Regions from separate parts of the Homo sapiens genome. Here region 1 is linked to region 2. Evidence: promoter capture Hi-C in human tissues and cell types (Jung and others, 2019). All regions are on one chromosome and are shown on one strand. Each heading gives the region's core, a stretch centred on a gene start or on the middle of the fragment in contact. The rest is flanking DNA. Distances are from core to core; before and after follow the strand shown.

Region 1 (4,113 bases), core at 1,403-3,902, 300 kb after region 2:
TGAGTGCCAGCTCCTCAGAGAGATCTTAAGCTGAAAGCAAGTATTCAGGCATGAGGAGAGCCTCATTTGGCCGGTCACTTGAAGTGATGAGCTATGTGACCCAGGGAGAGTGTTGAGTCAGGTTACTGCCTTTTGGTGAATTGAAAACATGGCAGCAGAGAAGGAGTGATTAACACAAGTTATAGCAGGTTGGCAGGTACAGAGGAAGAGTCTGACTTGGGAGAAAAAACTGAAAAGTTGATTTTATCTTAGTTATAATTGCTTATGGACATGGCAAAGCTTTTGCCTGGCACCTAATCAATGTTAGCAACCTTCTGCCTTCCTCCAAATTCTTCATCAGCTTGATGCTACTGACTCACAGAAACCTCTCCTTGCTACCTAAAATACCGGGGTTCCTCTACCTGTTTCTTTTCTTAACTCCTTGCTCCATTCCCTCCAAAGAGTATTGGTCACAGTGATAGAATCCAACTCAAACTAAACTGCTCAGTGAAGGGAACCCAAATCATGTAACTAGGAAATTCAGGGATGATTGGATTTAGAATTTAAGATAGCTCCATATCTACATCCCATTGGCTCCACAATCCTAGTGGAGTCCTCCTTCTCAATATTATAGCACCCATACCTGATGCCCTTGGCTCTGAACAGCCTGGCTTAGGTGACGTATATGCCTGGAGCCATAAATAATCACTGTGGCCAGAAGAAGATGTTGATTAAGAGTCAAACTCTGTAAAATATTTGAAGAGATTTATTCTGAGCCAAATGTGAGTGACCACGGCCTGTGACACAGCCCTCAGGAGGTCCTGAGAACATGTGCCCAACGTGGTCAGGGTACAGCTTGCTTTTATATGTTTCAGGGAGGCATGAGATATCAAATACATTTAAGAAGTACATTGGTTTGGTTCAGAAAGGCAGGACAGCTCAAAGCGGGGCTTCCGGGCTATAAGTAAATTTAAACATTTTCTGGTTGACAATTGGTTGAGTTTATCTGAAGAACTGGGATAAAGAGAAAGGATATGTTCAGGTTAAGATAAAGGATTGTGGAGACCAAGTTTTATTGTACAGGAGAAGCTCTCAGATAGCAGACTTCAGAGAGAGCAGGTTGTAAAATGTTTCTTACCAGACTTAAAAGGGTGCCTGGCTCTTAGTTGATTATCTCCTGCATCTGGAAATGAAGGAAGGAAAAAAAAGTGGGGGGAAGGGGGATTCTCTATAGAAGGTGGATTTTTCCCAACAAGGGATGCCTTTTAGGGTCATTTCAAGATAATGACAGAGAAACATGTTTTGGGGTAAAATAATTTTATTTACTTTCTTTTATGCCAGAGTCAGATTGGAAAGTAAGTCATGATATACAGGGTTAAATAAAAAACATCTGATGAGAATTTGTGGTTTGTAGGACATGACTCCTCAGACCCCTTAGATAGGGATTTGGGCAAGATAAAAAAAAAAAATCAGAGCTTAGTCCTCAAAGCTAAACTCTTTTTGACCAATCCTGGGCTTTCTGCCTACTCCTAGAATCTGAGAATAGAAGCCTCCCCAAATGACAGGGACTGAGAATGGGAGAGGAATGCAATTATCCAAAGGAAAAATTGATTTCAGGCAAAGGAAAACAGTAAATATTTACTACAATATCATTTTCTTAACAATTTATCTTATATTAAAAAAACAGACAAAAATGTCTATGACCTCCAACAAGTCTATAAGTTCCATGGAGGTACAGAGTTTGTCCATTTTGTTCACCAATAGACCGTTAGTGTCTCTCACGGTGTGTGACACATGGTAAATATTTAATAAACATCAGCTGGATATGTGGATGCATGAATGCATGCATGCTTGGGAACTTGGTATCCCTTGTCTGGTCTTAGAAGAGCACAATGATGAGCCTTATACAAAGAGGAGAAAGAGAAGGATCAATCAAGTTTGTCACTTCTTTAAAGATTCTTTTGTAATTTTAAATTTTTGATGGATTTTCTTGGCTTGTATCCTTATATGTTTAGAAGACTGGAATGTTCTTAAAGAGGCTCTTCAAAACAAGACTCTAGCTGAAAAACAGGAGACACCTGCCTACCTTTATTTTCATCTCTGCACATCTCTGGTTACTAGGGCTTCTTACACGTGTACTTCCCCTGCTCTCTCACTCCTTGGTAACTGTCTCTAGGGATTCTGTCCTTTCCAGCACAAAGGCCTGTAGGGAGGGGTGCAGTTAACAAAAATACCTCCTGTTGGCCCAGAAGGAAGCCCATAGGATCTTTTCTGATCAATGTAGGGGAGAGATGAGGTGTAACAAACTAATGAACCTGAGATATTCCAGACTTTTCCATGCTCTCAGACACGTGGTCTCTGAGCTGCACTTTTCAGGTTTTGAGAAGCTAAATGGCAATCAGAGTGTGCTCCACACTCCAGAAGTGGCTTCCTCGGGAATGCGAGTAAACTCATCTCCTCCTTCTGACTCTTCCTCTAAAAGAGCCCCTCTGCTCAGTCTGAAACCTCAATTAAGATGGTTTACTGGATGCTTTCTTGACCTCAGTGGGCATATATATACCAAAGATCTTTCCACCAGGGTGACATTTTCCCACTGAGCCTCTCCACATGTAGAATAGAAGGTTCTGATTTAGGGGTTACTTCCCAGAAACTCCACATCCTCTCTCATAACACTCTTCTGTGTCTGCCAATCCTCATGGTCCTCAAGATATTCTTGAGGTCCTGCCTCAATTTTTCTTGCTCTCTGTTGACCTCATGTCCTCCCTTCCCATTGGAAATGGAGACACAAGCTGACAATAATGCTTCATTAGCTGGTACTCACATCTTTTTTTTTTTTTTCCAGATGGAGTCTCACTCTGTTGCCCAGGCTAGAGTGTAGTGGCATGATCTCGGCTCACTGCAACCTCTGCCTCCCAGGTTCAAGCAATTCTCCTGCCTCAGCCTCCTGAGTAGCTGGGATTACAGGTGTGACCCACCATGCCCAGCTAATTTTTTTTTTTTTTTAAGTAGAGACGGGATTTCACCATGTTGGCCAGGCTGGTCTCAAGCTCCTGACCTCATGATCTGCACACCTCAGCCACCCAAAGTGCTGGAATTACAAGTGTGAGCCACCACGCCCAGCCTGGTACGCAGATCTTAAAACCTTCCCTTTCCTCTAGATCTTTAGGTCTGATTCTGGGAACTATTTCACAGAAGAACTACAGTTTTTAATAGAGTAGTAAGGGAAGACTTCATGAGTAATTCACATTTGTACCAAGATTTGAAGACGGTATATTAGGCAGTCTCTGTAGGAAATGGTTGACTAACTCAAATGAGTGTCTCAATGGAGTTTAATGAAAAGATGGTTCCCCAAAAATAAGAATACCTAGGAAGGAAATGTAGGAAGCAAGGTGAAGCCCTCAAAAACTGTAGCCACCAAGGCTTGAAGGTACTCAGTGACCATTATAGCCGTTGGAGAGGGTTTGCTTGGCATGAGCTGTGCCTTCAATGGAGCAACACAGCCACTGCAAAATTGAGGCTGGAAGAGAGGGAGTTGAGGAGGAAATGCCCCAACCTTCTTTCTTCCTTATGCCTAATTCTTGTCAATGCTTCCCATTGGTTGAACTCAACCAGAAATCAGAAGGCAGAGGAGCTTGATGATGCTGTCCATAGAGGTCAGCCTCTTGAGACTGAGCAGTGGAAAGTGATATGGAGGGATAAAGAACAGAGAATATCTAGCACAGAACATGAGCAAGCTAGCTCTATCCAAGCAGGGAGAACAATAAGTTCAATTGTTCTGAGATCCGAGTGTGCCTGGAGTGCTTGAGTAGCTGCAAGAAGGCGGATGTGCCTGGAGCAGAGTGAATGGAGGAGGAATTGTTTTTGAAGATTCAGAAGATATTCCTGGCTTTGACAGTGCCTTCAGTAAAAACTATTATGCAGCATGATTAATCTAGCCATTGCTACCTGGAATGTTATAATTAATAGAGATTTTGACTTACTGACAATTTTATTACATCATCCTTCATTTTCAAATTGCTAACTGCTGCATGTGAGTGTGGCAGGGTGAGAGGGCTGGGAGGCTCATAACTCCAGCTAGAATCACCTCCCTCTACTCAGCTCCAATTGATCAAAGGCAGAGGATCAAGGAGTGAG
Region 2 (4,265 bases), core at 1,617-4,116:
TTGGACACTGCCTCCTGTCCCCACAAGGGCACTTGCTCATCACTCCTGTCCCCCACTGAGATTTATTGCTTTGGGTGGTAAGTCTTCAGCAGGGTGTGCACACCTGCAGCTCTCAAGGAGTTTTGTCAAAATACACATGCTGCATCCCACCTTGGACCTGGTGAATAATTTCCCTGGTGGGGCATTGGTAAGTGTATTTTGTCTTCCTAGGAAATGCTGATCTATAGGCCTGGTTGAGAATTATTATATTTGTGGATATCTTTCTGCTCAGCAATGTCTCACTCAGCTTGCACAGCATGAAATCTTCTAGCAAAAATTAATGGTGTCCACATAGCTTTTCAAAGCTCAGAGATACTGACCCTGTGTGACAAACTGAGGAGGCAGAACCTTTGGTGATAAGGAACATGTGACAGGAATAAGAACTCTGTGTATAAAGGGGCCATGTATATCACCCTACACATGGTGCATACATCATGGTACTTAATAAAATGCAGCACTTGTTATTATTGGTATTCGTTGTGTATTGGCCTCAGGGTTCCTGGCTCTGAAAAGACCTGTTCCCATTTTAGGAGAAAAGACTCCAAATCAGGGAATTAAGAAACCACCTGGCTGTTTGGGAAGCATTTAGAAAATATGACAAGAGGTGTCATACACAGGCTAGCAGCAGAAATTTCAAGAAAGATAATTACTGTAAACTTTGTTTTTATTTCCTCTTTTGATTCTGAAATTAGGAAGAAGAGCAGTGTGTTGGAAGCTGGGGTGCAGATGGTAAGTGATGGTCTCCTAAGACTCAGTTCCCGAGTTCTACAAACAGCAACACAGCAAACCCCAGATTGCCACGGGCTCTGATTTTTGTCTCTTAGTATTCATACTTGAAGTGTGGGGTTCCTAGTTGCTGTGCAAAAATGACTGTAGCCATGTTTCCAACTGAGCCTACTGGCGATGTCCAAAGCCCCTGCCAAGAGCCTCAGAGCAGAGACTTTAGTAGAAGATGGAAAATGAGTGACTCAACAGAGCGAGGAAATTGTCTTCTCAGCTTCCTTTAGATTGTCCAGAAAGGGAGATTAGAAAGGCTCCTCAGAACTAACACTGGAAAGGGAGTTTATACCATTAGGGCAAAGATTGGGAGACAAAGGTACTGAAGTCAAATGAGACTTCTGTGAAATACTTTGGAAAGTACAGATTTTGAGACTACATGAACAGCAGCAGCACCAATAACTGTATCACTGGTGCGGGCTATAGACATCAGCTGGGAATGAAGGTGATTCTCAGGGCCCTTAATTTAGCCATCAGCCCCCAGCCAGACCTAAGCCTGCAGCTGGCTGCACAGAGAGGCAGCCTGTTCCATCCTTGGAATTCCAACTTAGGTGACTGCACAAGGCATTTTGGTTTAGTGGTTCCTTAAATAAGACGACATTCCTTTAAGTCTAATCTCTCTCCTGCTGAAATTTCCTACCCTCTTGGGTTTTACCATTAAACTGCTTGCTCTCATCTGAAAAGTGCAGCTAGCAGGGTGCAAGCTAGTGCTCTAGTGACCGTTAAAATCTATCCTAGGACAGCTAGCACGCACGGAAAAACTTGCCATTCGCCGCACACCCACTCCCCCCCGCCCCCACCGCTATTCTTATCAGAGAGAACATGGAAAATATTCTACTCCCTCTTCCCCTTATTGAAGGATGCTGTGTGTACATCTGAATGGGGGTGGGATGCGGGGCGGGAGTGGAGTCTAGCTTTCGGTCCTCAACAAAAACATAATGATTCCCAGCAAGCCAGAGCTGTGCAACCAAGGAGGCAGGATCCTGGCCTCTCTCGGATCTGCAGGAAGGGTGGGCTGTGCGGGTCCAGAGTGGGATGCCCGTTCTGGCCGGCGGTGCCTGCTGAGCCCTTCCTGATGTGACTTTATTAGACAAACCCCCACTCCCGCCAGGGGTAGACACACGAGTATCTGCTTTAGGAAGATTTCTGCAACACGGCAGGGTGCAATTCAAACTCTGGGTTCTCCTTTCCTGAGCTTAGAAACCAATTTGTTCGGAGATAGGAGAAGGCTCTGTTGGCAGAAGACCTAAGAGACGGGAGGAGGCGCCTGGCGTCAGCGGGTCGCTTCTCAGCCGTGACCACGAGCGGCCAGCAGGTGTCAGTGCGTCCTCGCTTTGCCCTGGCGCTCGGCTCCTGGACCCCTCCCCACCTCGGTCTAAGGGGGCGCGGTCCAGACCCCGGGTCTTGCGTTTCCCGCAGACAGCATCGCGGCTGGGAGGACACGTAGCCGCTTCTTCCCTAAGCGGAGGTCTGAACTCCGGCTTGTACCACTTCCCCGTGGGTGCTGTCCATTCCGCCCCAGGGGTTCCATCCGAAGCCGCGCCTTCCTCCCTCTCCAGGACCCCTTTCTCCCCAGCCTCCAGGAGCACCTGCGGACCGCGTCGGCTCTGGCCCGGAGCTGGGCTGCTCCAGACGTAACTCACACCGGAGGTTACTTCCCTCGATTTGGGCGGGGATTCCCTTCCATTTTTTTCTTCCCTTTTCTCCCAAGATCCAGCTTCTTGGGGGCACTCACGGGTGCCCGTTGCGTTCTGCTCCGTCGGCCCGGAGCTGCATGGCCAACTCCCAGCAGGGGCCGCTCCTCCCCTACCCCCCACCCCCGGGCTCCCTCTTTAAGTCTCTAGCTCAAGGTACCCGCCTCTCCAAAGGGCTCGTCCCGCCTGAGGGCAACGCTCCCCGAGGTCCAGCGCTAGGCGCGGGCGCTAGACTGGCGGAGGGGTGGTGCGAGGGGCGGGGGAGGGTCGGCTTCCCACGTGGGGGCTGACGCCGGCTGCTCAGCAACGCTTGCTTGATCCTGGGGCTATAAAACGAGTCCACCGTGAGCGCAGCGGAGCAGCAGCAGCTCCAGCTCGGTGCAGAAGCCCAGCAGCCGGCGTGCCGCCGCCCGGCCACTCCAGCGCCTTCTTCCCCGCCTTGCGCTCCTGCCCCAACTCGCGCTGTCGTCGGACCCCGGCCCATCCAGCAGCGCTCGGCGCCCACCAGGCGGACGCCCAGGAGAACCCCTGCCTCCGTCGCGGCTCCTGGAGAGCTGATCGTTCACCTGCCCCGGCCCGCCTGAGGACGGGGGTGCCTTCATGCGGCCCCCACACTCCTCACCCCGCCGCCGCCGCCGTCCCGGAGCTCCGCACAGTGTGCCCCAGCCCCAGCAGGGCGCACAACTTTGGAAGTCTCGCGGCGCTCCGAGAGGCGGCAGAGTCCGCGCCCCAGCCCCGGGCCGGGCCGGGCCAGAACCGCAGCGTCTGGGGGAAGCCAGAGAGTCGGTAATCGCTTCGGGGATGTAAGGCGACAGACATAGGACCCCCGAGCTCGCATCAGCACCCTTCGGCTGCCTCCCGGGGTGGGGGCGGGCCCCGCACACGGTAAGACCTCTTGCTTTCGCTCAGGCTCAAGATTCAAGATACAGATATTGATATGTATATATATATTTAATTTCCTGTCATCCTTCCAAGTTATCAGGCCACCGATGATTTTTGTTCTCCCTTCTTGAAGAATAAATCTCTCTTTACCCATCGGCTCTCCCTACTCTCTCCCGCCGCTTAGAAATAAAACTTGGCTGTATTAGGAGCTCGGAGCAAGAAGGCGCCCACCGAGAGCGTCTGAAGCGCGAGCCAGGCGCAGTTCGCGGGACCCGGGCCATGGGCCGCTAGCGGTCCTCCAGTTCGGGCCCGGCCTCCCTGCGGCCCCCTCCCTATGTGAGCCGCAGCCAGGCGAGCGGGGCGCCGGAGGAAGAGGAGGACCCACGGGCGCCGGGCCGGAAGGCAGCTGGCAGCAGGCCCAGGCCAGCGGGCGCCCGCGTTCATGTTCCGCCAGGAGCAGCCGTTGGCCGAGGGCAGCTTTGCGCCCATGGGCTCCCTGCAGCCGGACGCGGGCAACGCGAGCTGGAACGGGACCGAGGCGCCGGGGGGCGGCGCCCGGGCCACCCCTTACTCCCTGCAGGTGACGCTGACGCTGGTGTGCCTGGCCGGCCTGCTCATGCTGCTCACCGTGTTCGGCAACGTGCTCGTCATCATCGCCGTGTTCACGAGCCGCGCGCTCAAGGCGCCCCAAAACCTCTTCCTGGTGTCTCTGGCCTCGGCCGACATCCTGGTGGCCACGCTCGTCATCCCTTTCTCGCTGGCCAACGAGGTCATGGGCTACTGGTACTTCGGCAAGGCTTGGTGCGAGATCTACCTGGCGCTCGACGTGCTCTTCTGCACGTCGTCCATCGTGCACCTGTGCGCCATCAGCCT

The links. The method cuts DNA at HindIII sites, captures the fragments that hold promoters and counts their contacts. A contact is called where the count stands out against the background at its distance.
Region 1: a fragment that was not itself captured here is called in contact with the fragment with the promoter of ADRA2A in region 2 in 1 of the 25 tissues and cell types used here (H1 embryonic stem cells).

Annotation. Positions count from the first base shown.
Region 1 is chr10:111,375,932-111,380,044 of GRCh38, forward strand. No RefSeq gene overlaps it. Among named protein-coding and RNA genes, the nearest start is that of HEAT2, 260 kb to the left of the region's middle. The HindIII fragment of the contact is 5,148 bases long and covers 79-4,113 here.
Region 2 is chr10:111,074,163-111,078,427 of GRCh38, forward strand. It overlaps ADRA2A (adrenoceptor alpha 2A), which reads left to right and starts at 2,867. Exons shown (of 1, transcript NM_000681.4): 1 at 2,867-4,265. The coding sequence starts at 3,835. RefSeq lists a silencer at 2,830-2,879. The HindIII fragment of the contact is 8,357 bases long and covers 1-4,265 here.